2 separate regions of the Homo sapiens genome follow, and region 1 is linked to region 2. The links are contacts of gene promoters, found by promoter capture Hi-C in human tissues and cell types (Jung and others, 2019). All regions are on one chromosome and are shown on one strand. Each heading gives the region's core, a stretch centred on a gene start or on the middle of the fragment in contact. The rest is flanking DNA. Distances are from core to core; before and after follow the strand shown.

Region 1 (3,226 bases), core at 63-2,562, 620 kb before region 2:
AGTGGGAAGGAGGGAGTTTCCAGATTCCCCCATCCCAAAGGAGGGTTTTGGCCCCATGGGGGAATGAAACAAAGACACATGAACACAGCTGCAAATATGCCCACCTCTCTCCCTGCCCCCCAACTTGCCCGGGCCAAAGCACCCTGCCGTCCCTCACCCCTTCTCAGTTCATACCTACTCCCCAGCTCTCCACTCTGCTGTATTCTAGATCCACTCAGTACACCAGCGCCGGGAAGTCCAGGGCCGGGCCAAGGACTTTGACGTGCTGGTGGCAGAGCTGAAGGCCAACTCCCGCAAAGGGGAGTCTCCCAAGGAGAAGAGCCCAGGGCGCAAGGAGCAAGTTCTCGAGCGCCCCTCCCAGGAGCTCCCCTCCTCAGTCCAGGTTGTAGCAGCGGTGGCTGCTCCCAGCAGCACCTTCTCTGTTCGTGCCAAGCAGACCTACCCATACTGTGCACTGCCCAGGTACGTCTAGAATCCAACCCCTACCTCACCTGGGGGTACTTGGCCCCTAAGCCATCAGGGGCCCCTGGAAACAGGCTCAGGGAGTGTCCTGGAAGAGGCACTCCCTCAGCCCTGAGTGTGGGGGTATTCCTGGGGCTCCTGACAGTGGTGTGGAAGCAGGAGACTCCCCTGTTTCCAACCAGGCATACCACAGCACCCCAGCCTCTCGGCAGTGTGCCAGATCCAACACTCAGGATATGAACATTTTCCCAGCTGCCTCCAACAGACCGAAACTTGTCACTGGGGAGCTGAAAGGGTCACACTCCTGGGCAAGGCAGCCCTATGTGTATTCACTCACTGGCCCCTTCGCGTGCAGAGGCTATGCCGGACCCCAGGGAGAGCCTGACTTGCTGAAGGAGACACACATGCATCTCTGCCTGTCACACAAGGGGCAGACACGAAACACAGGCTCAGCTCACAGACAGGCTCACAGGAATATGTGATGCAAGAAGGGGGTTGAGCGAGTTGACTGGGCTGACCAGAGCTGGGTACAGTTTTAACTGTGAAGATTTTCTGGAGGAGGCGGATCTGCAGCAGATTATCCCCTGAGGAGGAAGGGGCTGGGAGGTGAAGGGGCTGGGGAGAGAATCCCTTGGGAGCAGTCTCTCTGTCTCTTACTCTGTGAGCTGTGTCGTTCCCTCCTGTCCTTCCCTTCCCTCTGTCCTCTTCTGATTGCCCTGCAGGGTGTCTGCCCTGGTGCCCTGCTCTTTGAGCTCGGCAGGTTCAAGGATGCCCCTACTCTGACCCCACAACAGTCACATTCCCCTGGCATCCCTTTTGGCCCTTCCAGGTCCCGGGCCTCCTCCGAGAGTGAATTGGATGATGAAGGCCCCTGTGGTGGTGATGGGGACCCAGGCCTGTTCCCCTTCCCCATGCCCCGGGGTGGGACCCAGGCCTCCAGCGAAGAGAGTGAGGAGGAGGGGACATCTGACGACCTCCACCCACCCCCTGACTGCCATTATGCAACCCGGCCCCCACGGCCACAGGCGGTAAGGACCTGGAATAGGGGCCTATGGAGGGGGTGGCCCAGCACTCCTGGCCAACAACATGGGGAGGAGGCCAGATCCTGTGTGCAGATGCTGTCTGTGCACCCCAGACCCTGCCAACCATGCACCTTCCTTCTGCCTTTAGTTCTGCACCTTTGGGAGCCGGCTGGTGAGCCCAGGATGCTATGTGTTTAGCCGCCGGCTGGACCGGTTCTGCTCAGCACTCAGCTCCATGCTGGAACGGCACCTCAGCACACACATGTGGAAGTAAGTCTCTCGGACCCAGAATGGAAGTTCTAGAATGGAAATTCCTAGGTTCCAGACATACTTGGGCTTCAGAAGCCCTGATCTTTCCTGTATACCCATAGGTGTGCCTTGGCTATTTGCCAGCAGGACCCCAGATAGGGAGTAGCATGAAAAGGAGGTGGGAAAACTTGGCAGCCTAGAGTTTGGCTAAGGCAGGGCATGGAAGGGTGGTCTGGGGGTGAATCTAGACTTTCATCCATCACTTCCAGTACCTTTTGGGTAACTAGGGATAGGGGATGCCCAAACCAAGATTTAAAATGAAGTTCCTAGTGGGCTGCCTCCTAGTTAGTAGGTACTAGCTAATTCCTCTCCACAGGCACCCCTGTGTCTTCTTCCTAACCCTCAGTTCCAGCATCTCCCAGCAGATGGCAGCAACTCTGGGGCTCTGCTGACCATTTCTAGGTGGGGCAGAGAGACTGGAGTGTGTCTTGTGTTGGGGGAAGCTGTCTTGTTTCTTGGCAGTCACAGTGGGGCTTTCTTTTTGCTGCAGGAAGATCCCACCGGCAGCTGAACCTCCAGCTCACCTTGTCAACTCCCCGTTATCTGCTCCCCTGAGCCCATCCTCTACAGGCACCTGCCCCCGCCTTCCAGGTCCAACCCTGAGACCTGCCTGCCCAGCCTCCATGCCCCCCACCAAGGACAACCTTGTCCCCAGCTACCCTGCAGGCTCCCCCAGCGTGGCGGCTGCCTGTAGCCAGGCAGAGTGCATGGGCGGGAGCCAGGCTATCACCTCACCACTGCCTGCCAACACGCCATCCCCGTCCTTCAGCAAGCTGCCGCCTTCCAAGGCCAGCAAGTCATCCAAAGGCAAGGACGGGGTGGAGGTGGAGGCCCCTTCTCGAAAGCGGAAGTTATCCCCTGGCCCTACCACTCTTAAACGGACCTGCATCCTGGAGCCCACTGGAAAAGGGAAACCCTCTGGCTGTAGGGGCCTCTCGGCCAAAACTAAAACAGCCCTGAGCATGGGGCTTAATGGGACAATGGGGCCAAGAGTGAAGCGGGCAGGGCCCCTGGACTGTCGTGGCTCCCCTCATCAGCTCCCCACACCAGTCAAGGCTTCTCAGCTGGAGAACCGGGGAGCAGCTGGACACCCAGCCAAGGCCCTGCCAACCAACTGCCTCTCTGAGGAGGAGGTGGCCAAGAAGCGGAAAAACCTGGCCACTTATTGCCGGCCAGTGAAGGCCAAGCACTGTCAGGCTGGTGCCCCTGCTGATGTGGCCTGCTCTGTGCGCCGCAAGAAGCCAGGCCCGGCCCTGGCCTTTGAGGAGAAGTGCTCTACACTGAAGGTACCAGCCAGGCTCCCTGAAGATTGATGAGGGTGGGGCACACAGGGGGTACCTGATACAGAGAAGATGCTACATTGGTGTTTGTGCAGGGAAAGGGAGGAAGGGGAAGTTGAGAGAGTTCCTGGACTGTTTTCTTTAGGAAGAGGT
Region 2 (3,475 bases), core at 408-2,907:
GGGAGAAGGTGAGTGAGAAGAAGGGCACAGTCGAGCACAGAGCTGGTGAGAGTTGAGGGGATCCCTGACAAAATCAGCCCACTGGCTGCGAGACGTTATTCAGGTCTTCTCCAAAGTTGCTCAGTTCTAAAATGAGACAATACTTTCCTCCCAGGCTAAATTGTGACAACATATATAAAGGGCTTGACCCAGAAGGCCTTCAGCAATGTGTTGCACTGAAAACTGCCAAATGCTGCAGAAGTTGCAGACACAGAGGAGGCCCAATCAGTGTCCTTTTTCATATTCACCTTTGAGCCGGGGGTGCCTGCTCAGGGCCTGGGCCACAAAAGGCACTGAGCAGAGATTTGTTTAGGAGGCAACATGAGGTAACAGTGAAGACAAGAGCAATTCTGCCTGCTTGCTGTAGGATCAGCCAAGCCTCCACTTTCTCCTCTGGCAGATGGAGATCATGGCAGTGCCTGCCTCATAGGTTGAGAGGATTCAATTAGGCAGGCCTGTGATGCAGATGCTGTGGGCTGTCCTGCCCCATCCCCTCAGCACTCACATTCCTGAGGGCCCGATGGCTTCCTACTTTTCTGTGGTCACAGGAGCATGCTGCTTAACACCTGTGGACCAGAAGTGCCAAGGAGGTAGCACTTCTATTAGCCAAAGACAGGAGTCAGAGCATAAAGATGCAGGTTCGGCCAGGTGCGGTGGCTCACGCCTGTAACCTCAGCACTTTGGGAGGCCAAAGCAGGCAGATTGCTTGTGTCTGGGAGTTTGAGATCAGCCTGGGCAGCATGGAGAAACCCATCTCTACTAAAAATACAAAAATTAGCCAGGCATGGTGGCGTGCAGCTGTAGCCCCAGTTACTTGGGAGGCTGACACAGGAGAATTACTTGAACCCAGGAAACGGAGGTTGCAGTGAGCCGAGATCATGCCACTGCACTCCAGCCTGGGCAACAGAGTGAGACCCTGTCTCAAAAAACAAAAAAAAAAACAAAAAAACCACACCTGGTGCAACTCAGGTGTGTTCCATGCAACCTCCCAGAACTCCCCAGCAGGATAACATACTAGTTGCCCACAATGGCAACCTGCTCATGAATGCACGTTTTGATTTCCCTCCCGTCCTCATCTCACATCCTCACTCCCCTCCTGGTGCCTCCTGGGATCACCTCCTAATTGAGTACTTGTTCTCAAATCCCTGTCTCAGTGTCTGCTGCTGGAAAGCCCAATCCAAAAGAGCGTGTAAAGTGCTTGACAGAAAGAGGACGCTTGATAAATGCTAGCCAGCTCACTAGTGTGAAAGTGTCATGAAGGCAGAAGTCATCCATCTGAATATGACTGTCTCCCCAGGTCCAGGTGCTGGCACAGAGGTGGCACCTAATACACATGTGTTGAAGAAATCAATAGACATGCTCCTCCCACCACCCTGTCCTTTCCCTCCCTCCCTTTCCCTAGTCTCACTCTCATTTCCCCCAGTCCCACATTTTCTTTCCTAGTGCTCTTTTTCTCCTCTCGTGGAGGAAGGATGCTCTGGGCCCAAATACCCCTTTGCTGTCCCAAAAGTTCCACTCTGGAAATGAGCCCCCCCGCAGCATTGTGACATCACCGTGCACTAGCCAATGGCTGCCTGCCTAAGCTGGGTCCCTGGTCTCCTGGGACTACTAGCCCTTTGTTGATAGGGAGAAGCCAACATCTCCCGCAGGACCCCCTAATCTTCAGGGCAGCTCCCAGAGCATGGATCCCTCCTGATTCCACTCAGCCCGATGTTCCTCACAGTCAAGCTGCTCCTGGGCCAGAGATGCAGTCTGAAGGTGTCAGGGCAAGAGAGTGTAGCCACGCTGAAGAGACTGGTGTCCAGGCGGCTGAAGGTGCCTGAGGAGCAGCAGCACCTGCTTTTCCGTGGCCAGCTCCTGGAGGATGACAAGCACCTCTCTGACTACTGCATTGGGCCCAATGCCTCTATCAATGTCATCATGCAGCCCTTGGAGAAGATGGCGCTAAAGGAGGCCCACCAGCCGCAGACCCAGCCCCTGTGGCACCAGCTGGGACTGGTCCTAGCTAAACACTTTGAACCACAGGATGCCAAGGCCGTGCTGCAGCTGCTAAGGCAGGAGCACGAGGAGCGCCTGCAGAAGATAAGCCTGGAGCACCTGGAGCAGCTGGCCCAGTACCTCCTGGCAGAGGAGCCTCACGTGGAGCCAGCTGGAGAGAGGGAGCTTGAGGCGAAGGCACGGCCTCAGAGCTCCTGTGACATGGAGGAGAAGGAGGAGGCAGCAGCTGATCAGTAAACGGGCCATCCTACCCATTTGCATGCTAAAATTCTCCCGGCCTCATCCTTACGTGTTCCCTGGTGACTTTTCCTACTACTTCCTGCTGATGTGGATGCGTCCACACCCCTTTTTGAACCTTCCAAGCAGCTGGAGGGTTTTTGGATCCCTGTCCCCTCTTGGGCCTGAGGTCCTCCCTCTGAAATGCAGAGTGAACCAACCCTCATCACCATGCTTCCCCTAGAAGGGTTCTGATCACCGGAGGGCAGCCCCAAAGGCCACAGTCCCCTCCTGTGCTGGCAGCTTTGCCCACACATACCCAGCAGCTCCCCAGGCTGAAAGCAGCCCTGGCCCAGGGTCTCCATGGTTCTAGGCAGACCCTCTTTCTCCTTCGGGACAGAAAGACAATGTGAGTTCATTTTCCTCCATCCTCAGACCGTGACATCTCCCCTAGGCTCCCCAGCAGCCAAGAGGAGAGGAATGTCAGGTAGCTGCCCCTTGCCTTCTGGGTGAGGCTGCCCCTGCTGTTCTCCTGCTTGTGCTTCCAGCTTAAGGGACAGGCACAGCAGAGGTGAGAGTGGGAGGAGGGCACGTACCGGGTGCCAGCCCTGGAGCCCTCAGGGAGACAGACACAGACCAAGAATAGCAGGAAACTGAGCCTCAGGCAGAAAAAAAGTTCAGCAAAGTCATACACTCCCTGTGGCCAGCGTGAACAGAGCCATGCCCCACCCTCCCAGACTGATCAGTCAGTAGGTATCACAGCTCACATTACCTGCCCAGCGCTGCCCAAGGCTCCCTGGAAGGAAAAATGGTATCTGTCAATGAGGATCCTTGCCCTCACAGAGCACGCAGCCTAGATGCAGAGAGCTGCTATACATGTGAAAAGTAAAGTGGTGACATGAAACTAGAGTCTAGTGTGTGTGACTGAATGCACGGGGCCTCACGGGGCCCTGGGTTCAGCATAGAGGGGCCAGTCCCCTGCAGACTACGAGGAAAGCCAGGCCCTTTACTCTGTTCTTTGAGTGAGAGAGTGGCCCTTGCAGAGGCTGAGGAGTCCCCACACTCTGTGTGTGAGTGGGAGGGAGTGGGGAGCTGTGGTCCCCCATTCACTGCTGAAGCCCCTGAAATGCTGTTATTGCAAAAGTTTCAGTCCTGAGTGATGGGGATGGAGGGAAGGGGTGGAGGAGAATGTCTTGAACAAGCAGGGCCCCCTTCCCTAGGA

What was found. The method cuts DNA at HindIII sites, captures the fragments that hold promoters and counts their contacts. A contact is called where the count stands out against the background at its distance.
Region 1: a contact is called between a fragment that was not itself captured here and the fragment with the promoter of UBL4B in region 2, in 1 of the 25 tissues and cell types used here (pancreas).

What each region holds. Positions count from the first base shown.
Region 1 is chr1:109,488,639-109,491,864 of GRCh38, forward strand. ATXN7L2 (ataxin 7 like 2) reads left to right here. Exons shown (of 11, transcript NM_001350175.2): 7 at 209-462; 8 at 1,292-1,490; 9 at 1,633-1,754; 10 at 2,284-3,079. Among named protein-coding and RNA genes, the nearest start is that of CYB561D1, 3.8 kb to the right of the region's middle. RefSeq lists a silencer at 2,219-2,268. The HindIII fragment of the contact is 6,277 bases long and covers 1-3,226 here.
Region 2 is chr1:110,110,786-110,114,260 of GRCh38, forward strand. UBL4B (ubiquitin like 4B) reads left to right here and starts at 1,658. Exons shown (of 1, transcript NM_203412.2): 1 at 1,658-3,162. The coding sequence starts at 1,750. The coding sequence ends at 2,274. The HindIII fragment of the contact is 14,264 bases long and covers 1-3,475 here.